Regions from separate parts of the Homo sapiens genome. Here regions 1 and 3 are each linked to region 2. The links are contacts of gene promoters, found by promoter capture Hi-C in human tissues and cell types (Jung and others, 2019). All regions are on one chromosome and are shown on one strand. Each heading gives the region's core, a stretch centred on a gene start or on the middle of the fragment in contact. The rest is flanking DNA. Distances are from core to core; before and after follow the strand shown.

Region 1 (4,430 bases), core at 777-3,276, 36 kb after region 2:
TCTATAATTATTTCAAATTTAAAAGTTGAGAAAATAACCCTCCCTTGAATCCATTATCCTCCCCAAATAATTTACATTTAGTTCTTCCCCTTCTCTTTCAAACTTTGAAAAAGTGTTACCTGTATGAATCATGTCCAATTTCACATCTCCGTTTGACTCATTACATTGAAATTTTACTTCTGCTCTCAGCATTCTTCTGAATTTGCTATCATTAAGGATATCAATGAATCAACGTTTGTCAAGTTACCGTTCCACCTCCCATCGAACCAGACTTGCCTCTATGGTATTGTTGATTACCTTTTCTTTCCTGAGGCTCTCTAACTTCCACGACACCACACTTTTCTGGATCTCTTCACATTTTTGAGTCTCTGATTCTTGCATAAAAACCTATTTTCTACCTGATATTTAAACATTTGTGTATTAGTTGAGGTGCCAAAATGCAGACACAAAACATTAAACAAGATATAAGTTTGTTTTCCATTCACATAAGATTTTGGACTCAGGCTCTTTTCATATTGTTTTTGAGCCATCTCTAATTGCTCTCATCTGTTTCTCTGAAGCAGGGACACAGCCTTCTCTGTATTCCAGCCAGTGAGAGGACCAAGTGTCCTCCAAAGTGAATCAGCTTATCTCTAAATTAGAAATGACCCAACAGCTACACAAATCACCTCCCATCTAATGCCAGTGGCTAAACTTGGTCATAAGGCCATGGAGCTTCAAGCTTGATTACCATTGAAGAGAGGGATAATGGATTTGAAAGAGACACAAGCAGTCTTACATTGGTAGTATTCATCAGGGTTCCATTCTTAATTGGTGTATATTTTTTTCTTAACTTACACATTCTCAAATAGTGATTTCATCTCTTTTCCTGGTTTTCATTACCTATTTTTATTTCCAGTTGTGGATCTTTGTTTCATCCCTTTCCCTAGCCCTCTGGACTTCTACAGGCATCTTAACTTGTCTTTCTATCCCTAGAATCTGGAACACTGATTATCAATGGAGAGCAATTTTGTCCTCTGGGGACACCTGGCAATGTCTAGAGAGCTTTTTGAATGTCACAACTGAGGCAGAGCAGGGGAAATTGTGCTAGCTATTGGCATCTAGTGGGTAGAGACCCAGGTTGTTGCTAAACAAAATATGATGCACAAGATATCACTCCACAACAAATGCTTATTTTGTCCAAAATGTCAGTAATGCTGCTGTTGAGAAACCCTGACATAAAGCAATGCCAGTTTTCTAGTAAAATGTAGTACATTTTGAGAGGATGAATGATTTAGTAAAATCTGTATAAAAGGTAATCTTCACACAGAAGTAGTAAACCTGAGGCTATCATATGTTGTCACTCCTGATCCACAAGTCAACAATAATAATGATCATGAGTTATTGAGCTTTATATACCTCATCCCATTTTAAATGAACAACAATCCTGTGGGATATTATAACATTTTATGGGTGAGTAAACTAAGGCTCAGAAAATTTGATAACTTGCCTAATATCACAGAGCTAGAATACATACCCCAGATTTTTCTGGCTGTTATAGCACCCCTTAGCCTCTGGGATTCATCTTATTTTCACTTCACACTCAACTCTTTAACCTTGAATGCTTGAACAGTTCAAATATAAATTTGATCTCTTATTCTTCCTATGCTGGTGCCTACCCCAGGCAAGGGCAAGTTCCTACCTCAACATTTGTGTTTCTCTCCTTGAGGAAGCTGCAGTATCATTCTAGCCTAAATTTTTTAGAAGAGGGAAAATTAAGAAAAGTATTACTTACAGATCTGACTCTAGTAAAGCTTTGAACGGGATAGGAATTCCTGAAGACACAGGTAACCCCTCCCCAGCTCAGTCCCATTAGGAAACCAAAACAGCCTGCTCTTCCTGCTTCTAAAAATTTTCCCTTCTTTAGGCCAGTACATGGACAGTACTTGTGAATTAAATTTTCTTAACAATAGTCTTGCTGTTCATATTTTATTTACTCAAGTTCATATTCTGCTCCTCAAGAGCTGTTGGAAAAGTTCTTCCATTTGAAGGATAGGAAGAATTTTCTTTGAGGGATAAGTCAAGGACCAATGTGGCATAAATAGAGAAAGTATAATCATCTTTCCTTGGATATACACCATCCTGAGAGGAGAGAGAGAAAGAGACACACTCGTTTCCTTAGTGCTCTTCTTTTGCCTTCTGAATATTATCAATGATTCACTGAAGAGGCTGAATGGAAGAAGAGAAAGTATTCTATAGGAGAACACGCTAAGGATTTATAAGTCATAGTCACCACAGAGAAAAGAAGTTTTGTTCACTAGCAATTTTAACTATAGTAATTGCCATGTACTAGAAAAGAGCAGTGAAGATTGATGCTGGGAATTCCTATAACATTGAAAGCTGGCACACACAAAAATCATCCTACATTTTTAAGCCCATCCCGTTTTACCTTTCATCTTGTCCCCCTGTAGTTTCTAAAATTATAAACTACCTAAAATGCAGTCAACCAGCAACTCCAGCACACCTATAATATCTAGTACCCCAGAAATAATACAAAAAATCCTGAATGTTGGCTTTGAAAGGGATGCTGACTGTCCCAACCCTTTTATAGTCCTTGATCCTCAGAGTTTTGTTCTGAATAGGAGTAGAATGCAAGGAGTTAGTTACAGGTAAAGACAGATAATGTCAGGTGTCTTTCTGGTAATAATTAAAGAAATCAATTGGAATTACTCTATTTCTAATATTTTTAAACTTTATTGATAAAACCAGAAAATATATAGTTTCAAGTCTTTGGTAACTATGATTAGCACCCTTTGAGATGGCCTCCAACAATCTCTGCATCTTGGTTTGACATCCTTTGTCTAATCCCATCCCCTTGCATGTGAGATAAACATAATGACTTGCTTCTCACCAATAGTATATGACGGAAGTGATGTGATGCCACATCCATGATTGGGTAATAAAAGGCCAGGATTTCTGCCTTGCTTTTACTGCTTTCTCTCTTGTTGACACTCTCTCTTGCTCACCCAGTTACCCATTCTGATGAAGAAAGCTAAAGTATTGTGAGCTGCCTATACGGAGAGAAACTTGGAGGGGCCATGTGACAAGGAACTGAGGGAAGCCTTCAGCCAGCAACCAGCAAGGAGCTGAGGCCCTCAGTCCAACAGCCCAGGAGGAAATGAATCCTTCCAATAACCATGTCACTGAGTTTGAAATTGAACCTTTCTCCTACCAAACCTTCAGCGGAGACTACAGCCATGGATGATGCTTTGTTCACCACCTTGTGTGAAACTGATGCTGAGAGCCCAGCTAAGCTATGCCCAGATTTCTGACCTATAAAAACTGTGATAATATGTGGTTGCTTTCAAGCCACTATATTTTGGGTAGTTTCTTGTGTAGCAGAGGATAACTATTAGAGTAGTTTTCTAGTGCAATAAAAGGACAGACACAAATTTACCTTTGAGGCAAATATTTTTCTTTTTTTTTCCTAGGAAAAGCACCAAATTGGATGGATTAGCTGTGCAGATAAAAGCAGCTAGTAATTGTTGGACTTGAATTTAAATGTTTTAAACTGGAACTTGGTGTTCAGTTTGGTCATATAAACTGAGTGTATGTTGGGCAAAAATTTGTCTCTGGAATTTGTTTTCTTTTTAATGGAGAGATATTTCTGTGTATGAACGGTTGGACTTGATGGCCTTATTCCCATTCATTATTTCTTGTCCATATATGAAGGTGTGTGGGGAGGGGTGTTGGGGGGTGAGAGAGACAGAGACAAGGAAAAAGTAAGAAAAGACAGAGACAGATAGGCACAGAAAGAGCTCTTGTTCCATAAATTTATCCAAGAATGTCAAGAGCTAACCTTCACTTTAAGCTAGAAGTAAAAAATGAATGGCTTAGGCCTGGCCAAGTACAGTTCAAATTAGAAAATGGAAACCTCATGCATGGAGTCATTTGAAAATGAATAATACTTAATGCTGTATTTTCTCTATTATTCCACTGTGAGTCTCCTTAAGATGGGAATGGGGCATACACTGTCAACTGTCCTAGGTTAGAGCAGGACCTAAGAAGGGAAATAGGTGCTAAAGAACAGCCTACAAGCTCAAGAAACAAGAATGTCTCTCTTCTAGAACTCCCACTGTTTGCACTTAAATTCTGAGAAAGAATGGCATGGTCTAGGCCTTGCTACTCCAAATTTGGGCTTCAGCATCACCTAGGAACTTGTTAGAATGCAAAATCTTAGGCCCCACTTCCAACCAATTGAATCACAATGTGCATTTTAACAAGATCCCCAGGTCATTTAAATGCACATTAAAGTCTGAGACATACTGTTCTAGAGTACTAACACTTCGGCAAGATAAACTGGCCCTTGACTCAAGGCATCCACCTACAGACTAGGCAGGGAAGCATTTTGGAGGATAAGTGATACGGTTTGGCCCTCTGTCCCCACCCAA
Region 2 (4,863 bases), core at 2,355-4,854:
TGCTAAGCATGTGTGTAATCATCTTCGAAGACCAGTCCATTTGATGCTTCATATGACTCCAGTTCCAGCCATTATATGCAACTGCATGATTTCCAAGGGAGAACCACCCAGACAATCCTAATCACCTCACAGAACCATGAGAAGTAATAACAAACTGTTTTATGCCACTAACCTTGGGATAGTTTTCTGTGTACCAATAGGAAATCAGAAGAGTAGATAATGGAGAAATCATCAGTAAAGTTTGAAGGGGAGAGTAATGATAAATTCATATTCATAACTGATCATTTTGAATAGGTAGGGACATAGAGTCAGGTAATAGAAGATAAACACCCATGTCTTCTGCTCCCACCATACATTCAAGTTTATCTGGAATTTGAGGACTGCTGGACAAAATTGAGTGAAGTTCATTCTCCTGTGTACAATTGGTATTATGGAGATTCAAAACGATCTACCAAGAGGAAGAGAGAAAGGGCCAAGCCCTTGACGATTAAAGTACCAGTTTCCAATTCTGATGGCCAGCTATTAAGATAGCCTCCAGGCACACCTCCGGCATTCATGGTTGGGCAAAATCATCTGAAAACACAGTACACTGTGGAGTATCAGCTGTTTACTTTCAAGATGGTATTGCCACCAGGGCAGTGCTTGCTGCCTATGCTGAGGCAACATGAGAGAGTACCGTACTGCATACTGCTAGCCCAGTAAAAGACCAGTATTCAAAATCTGATATAAGCCTTCTAGGGAATGCATATCACTTTCCCACCATGATACGGTAGAAAAATTATAAGTAGAACTATCATAAATCACAGACCATCTGTGTAGGGAAAAGTAACCTCTTCAGGATATTGAATCTGTCTCTCTAAAACATGATATATTTCTTCGTATATTAAAGTCTTCTTTAAAGTTTAAAAAGTTTTACATGGTCTTGACTATTTTTGTCGGATATATTTCTAGATCCTTTATATTTTTCTTCCTATTAAAAACAGTATCTTTCTTAAAAATACCCTTTCTAACTCTATTGTTGGAATACAAATGTTCATTTGGGATTTATATGTTGATCTCACATTCTTCTTGTTTACTAAATTTATCCATTAATTCTAACAACTAATTTGAAGAGTCTTCTGGGTTTTCTATGGAGACAGCATGTCATATGCAAATAGTGACAACTTAATTTACTTTTTCCCTGTTTAAATTTTTTTTTCTTTTCTAAGTGTACTTTCTATCACACGATATTGTTAAATAGAATCAATGAGGGTGGTACATTTGTATATTTCTGATTTTTTAAGGAAGTCTTGTCAGTAGTTTACTTTTGAGTCTCTATAGATTTCTTTACTGTGTTAAAGCTATTCCTGTCTAACTCTGGTTTTTAAGACTTTTTATCAGTTACTAATAGGTTTTGAATTTCACTTAACAATTTTGTTCTTTTAAAATGACTATATATTTTTTTCCCTTTTAACTTCTGAACTTGGAAATTGCATTAATAGTTCATCATAATAAACTATCATTACATTTCCAAGATTAACTCTTCTTTCTCTTCATTTATTATATAAAACAATGAATTCAATTTGTTTTGTGTTTTGTTCAGGAACTTTGCATCTGTGTTCTTGAGTCAGATTGTCCTTCAAATTTCTTTCTCACGATGGCCCTGAATTTTTCTTTTTCTCAAAATTTTCCACCAATATTTTAGATAAAAACCCAAAGACAATAGTGTTATGAATCATTATGTACCTACCACCAAGCAACAACTCTCATGACCTCAAGTCCTCTCTTGTTTTATCTGTCTCTCTCTTTCTTTATCTCTATCATGCTTGATTATTTTGAAGTAAATTCTGAATAACCATTTCATCTGTAAATATTGTGTTATGTATCTTAAATGATAAGGATACTTTAAATAATATTATTTCAATATTATAATTACATCTGAACATGATATAGTCCTTTAACATTATCAAATGCTCACTTTTACCCAATTGTTTTATAATTATATTTTTTATTTAATTTGTTCAAATCAAGATCCAAACATGGTTCACACATTTTATTTGATTGATATATTTTTCACATGTTAAGAGTGAGATGTTGTTTTATTTCCTTAAATTCACTTGCTGGGGAAATGTACTTATTTGTCCTGTAGAATTTCCCACCTTCTAAATTTTGCTGATGGTATTCCTGTGTTGTAATATAATACCATCCCCATGTCCTATATTTTCTGGAAATTGCCAGCTAGATGTTAACCAGAGATCTCAAACTGTTTTGATCTCAGGACCCTTTAACACTCTTAAAAAATATTGAGGACACTCGAAAAAAAATTTTGTTCATGTGAGCTATTGATATTTATAATAATATATAGTAAAAGAGAAAAGTTAAAAATATTCATTTACTAACTCACTTTGAACTTTTTTGAAAACATGTTAACAAAAGACCCATATGTCAGTAAGTGAAGTTTGTCTTGGTTTATTTTTCAAGTAAAAATGGTGTTCCATGAAATAGTGAACTAAAACTCAGTGTTACAAATTATTTCCCTCAAGACAACCATTATACTTTAGCATGTCAGCTTCCCATTTAGTCATACAGAATATTCCCTCTAGATGTATTCAAGGGTTGAGATTTACTGAAGCCAATTCACTACCCTGATTCATCAAGTTCAAGGGCATTTTCAAGTAAAAATGGCTTTATTTTGTTTCTTGCAAGTGCGTGGATATGAGCAATGCAATTTGGTGCCACTGCCTTGATTGATGTTAAGGCACCAGAACTTCTATCCACCATTTATTTTGCCTCATCAGTGCAAATGTCAACATAGCGAAAATGACGAATAACACTTTAGTATAATTATGAAAATTATAACTGCACAACCACTCCAAACAGGCCCTGAAGACCCCCATTGGTGTGTAGATCACAATCTAAGAACGCTACTCTGAGATATCAAACTGTCAGCGCAGAACTACAATAAACCAAGGAACTATCTCTTGGTCTTCTCACACAAAGGTAGCTGGAAGGCAAATCTATTTAACTGCTGTTCCATAAGACCCTGGCTTGCCTAATGACTCACAAGATTATTTCAAGCTTCTTTTACATCTTGCTGTGAAGTTGAAGTAGCAACACTGAACCAGTGCTGCTGCTTCTGGTTTCTATTGTTTCTTTATTTCGACTAATACATTGTCTTTGCCAACACATCTAATTTTAATGCCCACCCAATTTTTATTTATTAATTTATTTTAAATGTTACTAGATAAGGTATAAAGGAATTCATATGTATGCCTATAGAAGTGAGCTCCTGGCACGTTGATCAAAAACAAACTTTTGACATTTCTCATAACTATGTAATATCATAATATTTTCTAAACTATATAATACCAGGCTCACAAGACTGCCTTTATTCCCTTAAGTTTCTCAGAAGAAGATATCTGGAAGAGGGTGGGAAAAGTGCAAACTTCAACTGTTTGTGGGGAAAGTGCCGGCCTGCTACAGAGAAAAAGGCAACATCTGTAACAATTCCCAGCCTTTGCCAGGAAGAGTCTCCTCCCCTTGGCATAATCTTTTTGAACCAATGCCAAGCCCTCTCCATGACCCCTGTCCCGCCTACATATTGCCGTTATTCACTCCAGTGACCATCCCTGAGATCTTTTTATAAAAAACCCAGTCTTTGCTGACCAGACAAAGCATACCAGATCTCACCAGAGAGGTAAGTGGGAGCTGAGAGAAGATGAGACCTGTGGAAGGGCAACCTCACATAATACAGGAGAACGCATGGGAGGGTCCCTTCCTCAGGGAGCACAGGAGCTCTGAGACTCAGCAAGGCTGTACTGGGAGGTCTCAGGGATGGGTGAGTACACAGATTCACAGCTCATTCAGAACTGTAGAAGATGATGAATGTGACCAAGATCACTTCAGTCCTAGGGGACTACAGAAGGAAAAAGACAAGAGGCAGTAGGATATCTGTGTGTCCTCCCGCTGACCACACTTCCTTTAGTGACCCGATTGCCTCCTCAAGTCGCAGACACTATGCTGCCTCCCATGGCCCTGCCCAGTGTGTCCTGGATGCTGCTTTCCTGCCTCATTCTCCTGTGTCAGGTTCAAGGTGAGATTTCTCTGCCTCTAGCACTGGGTTCCCTATGAATCCTCAGAGCCAAGAAAAGGAGGAAGGCTCCTGTGTGTCACGTGAGGTAATGACGTGGTGTCTAATGAAACTGCCTGCAGTTCCTGCATCATCACTCCTTCCTTCATGTTAACTTGCAGTGGGAGGCTCCACTGTGGTCCACTAACAATGGAATGAGATGGCTTCCATTTAGTCAGTGGACTCTAATATACACTGGTGGGAAAGTGTGGAGGGTCAGCAATGAGATGTGGGGAGGGACAATGATTGGAGGACCCAATATAGAGATAGCCCACAGTGAAGAGAGTGTTGAATGGTTGAATAAGGGGAAAGGGTAATAACAGACTAGATGGTGGCCCATTTAGTAGGGCTATTTTGAGATAAAGAACTTCTGAAAACACAAGGGAAGATGAAGAGCTGTCAGGAATGTGGTCTTCCTCCCCAAGGGCAGACCTAGATATTCCCCAAGGTCATCTCCCACCCACCCCCTACTCTTCATTTTACTCTCTCCCTTTTCTTCCACCCCAGGTGAAGAAACCCAGAAGGAACTGCCCTCTCCACGGATCAGCTGTCCCAAAGGCTCCAAGGCCTATGGCTCCCCCTGCTATGCCTTGTTTTTGTCACCAAAATCCTGGATGGATGCAGATGTGAGTGGTTAGATGTGGGGTTGGAGGTGATAGGGGAAAGTCCATGCAGGTCTCAGGGGGAGGAGGGTCTCCTTCAGGAGAGTTCCTTGGGAATGAGGATGAACACGCTTATCTTTCACACAGTCCTCC
Region 3 (4,556 bases), core at 1,738-4,237, 56 kb after region 2:
CCTCCAGCTTTGTTCTTTTTACTTAGGATTGTCTTGGCTATACAGGCTTTTTGTTGTTGTTGTTGTTCCATATGAAATTTAAAGTAGTTTTTTCTAATTCTTTGAAGAAAGTCAAAGGAAGCTTAGTGGGAATAGCATTGAATCTATAAATTACTTTGGGCGTTATGGCCATTTTCACGATATTGATTCTTCCTATCCATGAGCATGGAATGTTTTTCCATTTGTTTTTGTCCTCTCTTATTTCGTTGAGCAGTGGTTTGTAGTTCTCCTTGAAAATGTCCTTCACATACCTTGTAAGCTTTATCCTAGGTATTTTATTCTCTTTGTAGCAATTGTGAATGAGAGTTCACTCATGATTTGGCTCTCTGTTTGTCTATTATTGGTGTATAGAAATGTTTGTGATTTTTGCACATTGATTTTGTATCCTGAGACTTTGCTGAAATTGCTTATCACCTTAAGGAGTTTTTGGGCTGAGATGATGGGGTTTTCTAAATATGCAATCATGTCACCTGCAAATAGAGACAATTTGACTTCCTCTTTTCCTATTTTAATACGCTTTATTTCTTTCTCTTGCCTGATTGCCCTGGCCAGAACTTCCAACACTATGTTGAATAGGAGTGGTGAGAGAGGGCATCCTTGTCTTGTGCTGGTTTTCAAAAGGAATGCTTCCAGTTTTGCTCATTCAGCATGATATTGGCTGTGGGTTTGTCATAAATAGCTCTTACTATTTTGAGATGTAGTTCATCAATACCTAGTTTATTGAGTGCTTTTAGCATTAAGTGGTGCTGAATTTTATCAAAGGCTTTTTCTGCATCCATTGAGATAGTCATGTGGTTTTTGTCATTGATTCTGTTTATGTGTTGGATTACATTTATTGATCTGTGTATATTGAACCAAGCTTGCATCCCAGGGATGAAGCTGACTTGATCATGGTGGATAAGCTTTTTGATGTGCTGTTGGATTCAGTTTGCCAGTATTTTATTGAAGATTTTTGCATCGATGTTCATTAGGGATATTGGCCTGAAATTTTCTTCATTTTGTTGTGTCTCTGCCAGGTTTTGGTATCAGGATGAGGCTGGACTCATAAAATGAGTTAGAGAGTAGCCTCTCTTTTTCTATTGTTTGGAATAATTTCAGAAGGAATGGTATCAGCTCCTCTTTATACCTCTGGTAGAATTCAGCTATGAATCCATCTGGTCCTGGGATTTTTTTTGGTTGGTAGGCTATTAATTACTGCCTCAATTTCAGAATTTGTTATTGGTCTATTCAGGGATTTGACTTCTTTTTGGTTTAGTCTTGGAAGGGTGTATATGTCCAGGAATTTATCCATTTCTTCTAGATTTTCTAGTTTATTTGTGTGGAGGTGTTTGTAATATTCTCTGATGGTAGTTTGTATTTCTGTGGGATCAGTGGTGATCTCCTCTTTATCATTTTTTATTGTGTCTATTTGATTCTTCTCTCTTTTCTTCTTTACTAGTCTGGCTAGAGGTCTATCGATTTTGTTAATCTTTTCAAAAAAACCAGCTGGATTCATTGATTTTTTGAAGGGATTTTTGTGTCTCTATCTCCTTCAGTTCTGCTCTGATCTCAGTTATTTCTTGTCTTCTGCTAGCTTTTGAATTTGTTTGCTCGTGCTTCTCTAGTGCTTTTAATTGTGATGCTAGGGTGTCAATTTTAGATCTTTCTCGCTTTCTCCTGTTGGCATTTAGTGCTGTAAATTTTTCTGTAAACATTGCTTTAGCTGTGTCCCAGAGATTCTGATACATTGTGTCTTTCTTCTCATTGGTTTCAAAGAACTTATTTATTTCTGCCTTAGTTTCATTATATACCCAGTAGTCATTCAGGATCAGGTTGTTCAGTTTCCATGCAGTTGTGCAGTTTTGAGTGAGTTTCTTAATCATGAGTTCTAATTTGATTGCACTGTGGTCTGAGAGGCTCTTATGATTTCCATTCTTTTGCATTTGCTGAGCAGTGTTTTCCTTCCAATTATGTGGTCAATTTTAGAATAAGTGTGATGTGGTGCTGAGAAGAATGTATATTCTGTTGATTTGGGGTGGAGAGTTCTCTAGATGTCTATTAGGTCCACTTGGTCCAGAGCTGAGTTCAAGTCCTGAATATCCTTGTTAATATTCTGTCTCGTTGATCTGTCTGATATTGACAGTGGGGTGTTGAAATCTCCCACTATTATTGTGTGGGAGTCTAAGTCTCTTTGTAGGTCTCTAAGAACTTGCTCAATGAATCTGGGTGCTCCTGTATTGGGTGCATATATATTTAGGATAGTTAGCTCTTCTTGGCGCATTGATCCCTTTACCATTATGTAATGCTCTTCTTTGTCTTTTTTTATCTTTGTTGGTTTAGAGTCTGTTTTATCAGAGATGAGAATTGCAACCCCTGCTTTTTTTTTTTTATTTTGGGCTTTCCATTTGCTTGGTAAGTATTCCTCCATCCCTTCATTTTGAGCCTGTGTGTGTCTTTGCACATGAGATGGGTCTCCTGAATACAGCACACAGATGGGTCTTGACTCTATCCAGTTTGCCAGTCTGTGTCTTTTAATTGGGGCATTTAGCCCATTTTCATTTAAAGCTAACATTGTTATGTGTGAATTTGATCCAGTCATTATGATGCTAGCTGGTTATTTTGCCCATTAGTTGATGTGGTTTCTTCATAGTGTCGATTGTCTTTACATTTTGGTATGTTTTCGCAGTGGCTGGTACCAGTTTTCCTTTTCATATTTAGTGCTTCCTTCAGGAGCTCTTGTAAGGCAGGCCTGGTGGTGACAAAATCCCTCAGCATTTGCTTGTCTGTAAAGGACTTTATTTCTCCTTTGCTTATGAAGCTTAGTTTGACTGGATATGAAATTCTGGGTTGAAAATTCTTTTCTTTAAGAAAGTTGCATACTGGCCCCCACTGTCTTCTGGCTCACAGGATTTCTGCAGAGAGATCCTCTGTTAGTCTGATTGGTGTCCCTTTGTGGGTAACCTGGCCTTTCTTTCTGGCTGCCCTTAACATTTTTTCCTTCATTTCAACCTTGATGAATCCAACAATTATGTGTCTTGGGGCTGCTTTTCTCAAGGAGTATCTTTGCCGTCTTCTCTGTATTTCCTGAATTTGAATGTTGGCCTCTCTTACTAGGCTGGGGCAGTTCTCCTGGATAATATCCTGAAGTATGTTTTCCAATTTGGATCCATTCTCCCTGTCACTTTCAGGTACACCAATCAAACGTAGGTTTGGTCTTTTCACATAGTCCCATATTTCTTGGGGGCTTTGTTCTTTCCTTTTCATTCTTTGTTCTCTAATCTTGTCTTCACTCTTGACTTCATTAAGTTGATCTTCAATCTCTGATATCCTTTCTTCTGCTTGATTGATTCAGCTATTGATACTTGCGTACGCTTCATGAAGTTCTCGTGCTGTGTTTTTCAGCTCCATCAGATCATTTATGTTCTTCTCTAACTAGTTATTCTAGTTACCAGTTCCTGTAACCTTTTATCAAGATTCTTAGCTTTCTTGCATTGGGTTAGAACATGCTCTTTCAGCTCAGAGGGGTTTGTTATTACCCACCTTCTGAAGCCTACTTCTGTCAATTCATCAAACTCATTGTCTATCCAGTTTTGTTTCCTTGCTGATGAGGAGTTGTGATCCTTTGGAGGAGAAGAGGCTTTCTGGTTTTTGGAATTTTCATCCTTTTTGCGCTTGTTTTTTTCTCATCTTCATGGATTTATCTATCTTTGGTCTTTAATGTTGGTGACCTTCGGATGGTGATTTTCCTGGGTGTCCTTTTAGTTGATATTGATGCTATTGCTTTCTGTTTGTTAGTTTTCCTTCTAAGAGTCAGGCCCCTCTTCTGCAGGTCTGCTGGAGTTTGTTGGAGGTCCACTCCGGACCCTGTTTGCCTGTGTCTCACCAGCGGAGGCTGCAGAACAGCAAATATTGCTGCCTGCTTCTTCCTCTGGAATCTTTGTCCCAGAGAGGCACTGGCCAGATGCCAGCTGGAGCTCTCCTGTATGAGGTGTCTGTCAACTCCTGCTGGGAGGTATCTCCCAGTCATCAGGCACTGGAGTAAGGGACCCACTTGAGAAGGCAATCTGTCCTTTAGCAGAGCTTGCGTGCTGTGCGAGGAGACCCGCTGCTCTCTTCAGAGCCAGCAGACAGGAAAGGTTAAGTCTGCTGAAGCTTGGCCCACAGCTGCCCCTTCCCCCAGGTGCTCTGTCCCAGGGAGATGGGAGTTTATCTATAAGCCCCTGACTGAGGCTGCTGCCTTTCTTTCAGAGATGTCCTCCCCAGAGAGGAGGAATCCGGAGGGGCAGTCTGGTTATAGCGGCTTTGTCACACTGCAGTGGGTTCCACCTGTTTCAGGTATTTTGAGACATCTTCCTGAAGAATTAACTACTTTATTATTATAAAATACTCCTTTTCTTCTCAAGTAACATTTTTGCTTTAAAGTCAAATATGTCTGATATTAGTATCATTGCAGACAAAACCAGTCCCCCAAAAGATGGAGTCTTTCCCTATTTGGTGTCACAAAGCCAATACATGAAACAGAAAGTGAGTGTCAAGCA

What was found. The method cuts DNA at HindIII sites, captures the fragments that hold promoters and counts their contacts. A contact is called where the count stands out against the background at its distance.
Region 1: a fragment that was not itself captured here is called in contact with the fragment with the promoter of REG3G in region 2 in 2 of the 25 tissues and cell types used here (bladder and ovary).
Region 3: a contact is called between a fragment that was not itself captured here and the fragment with the promoter of REG3G in region 2, in 2 of the 25 tissues and cell types used here (mesenchymal stem cells and ovary).

The regions. Positions count from the first base shown.
Region 1 is chr2:79,059,556-79,063,985 of GRCh38, forward strand. No RefSeq gene overlaps it. Among named protein-coding and RNA genes, the nearest start is that of REG1B, 26 kb to the right of the region's middle. The HindIII fragment of the contact is 4,064 bases long and covers 1-4,058 here.
Region 2 is chr2:79,022,098-79,026,960 of GRCh38, forward strand. REG3G (regenerating family member 3 gamma) reads left to right here and starts at 3,605. Exons shown (of 6, transcript NM_001008387.3): 1 at 3,605-3,676; 2 at 3,886-4,072; 3 at 4,616-4,734. The coding sequence starts at 3,997. The HindIII fragment of the contact is 5,677 bases long and covers 1,208-4,863 here.
Region 3 is chr2:79,079,178-79,083,733 of GRCh38, forward strand. No RefSeq gene overlaps it. Among named protein-coding and RNA genes, the nearest start is that of REG1B, 6.5 kb to the right of the region's middle. The HindIII fragment of the contact is 4,779 bases long and covers 599-4,556 here.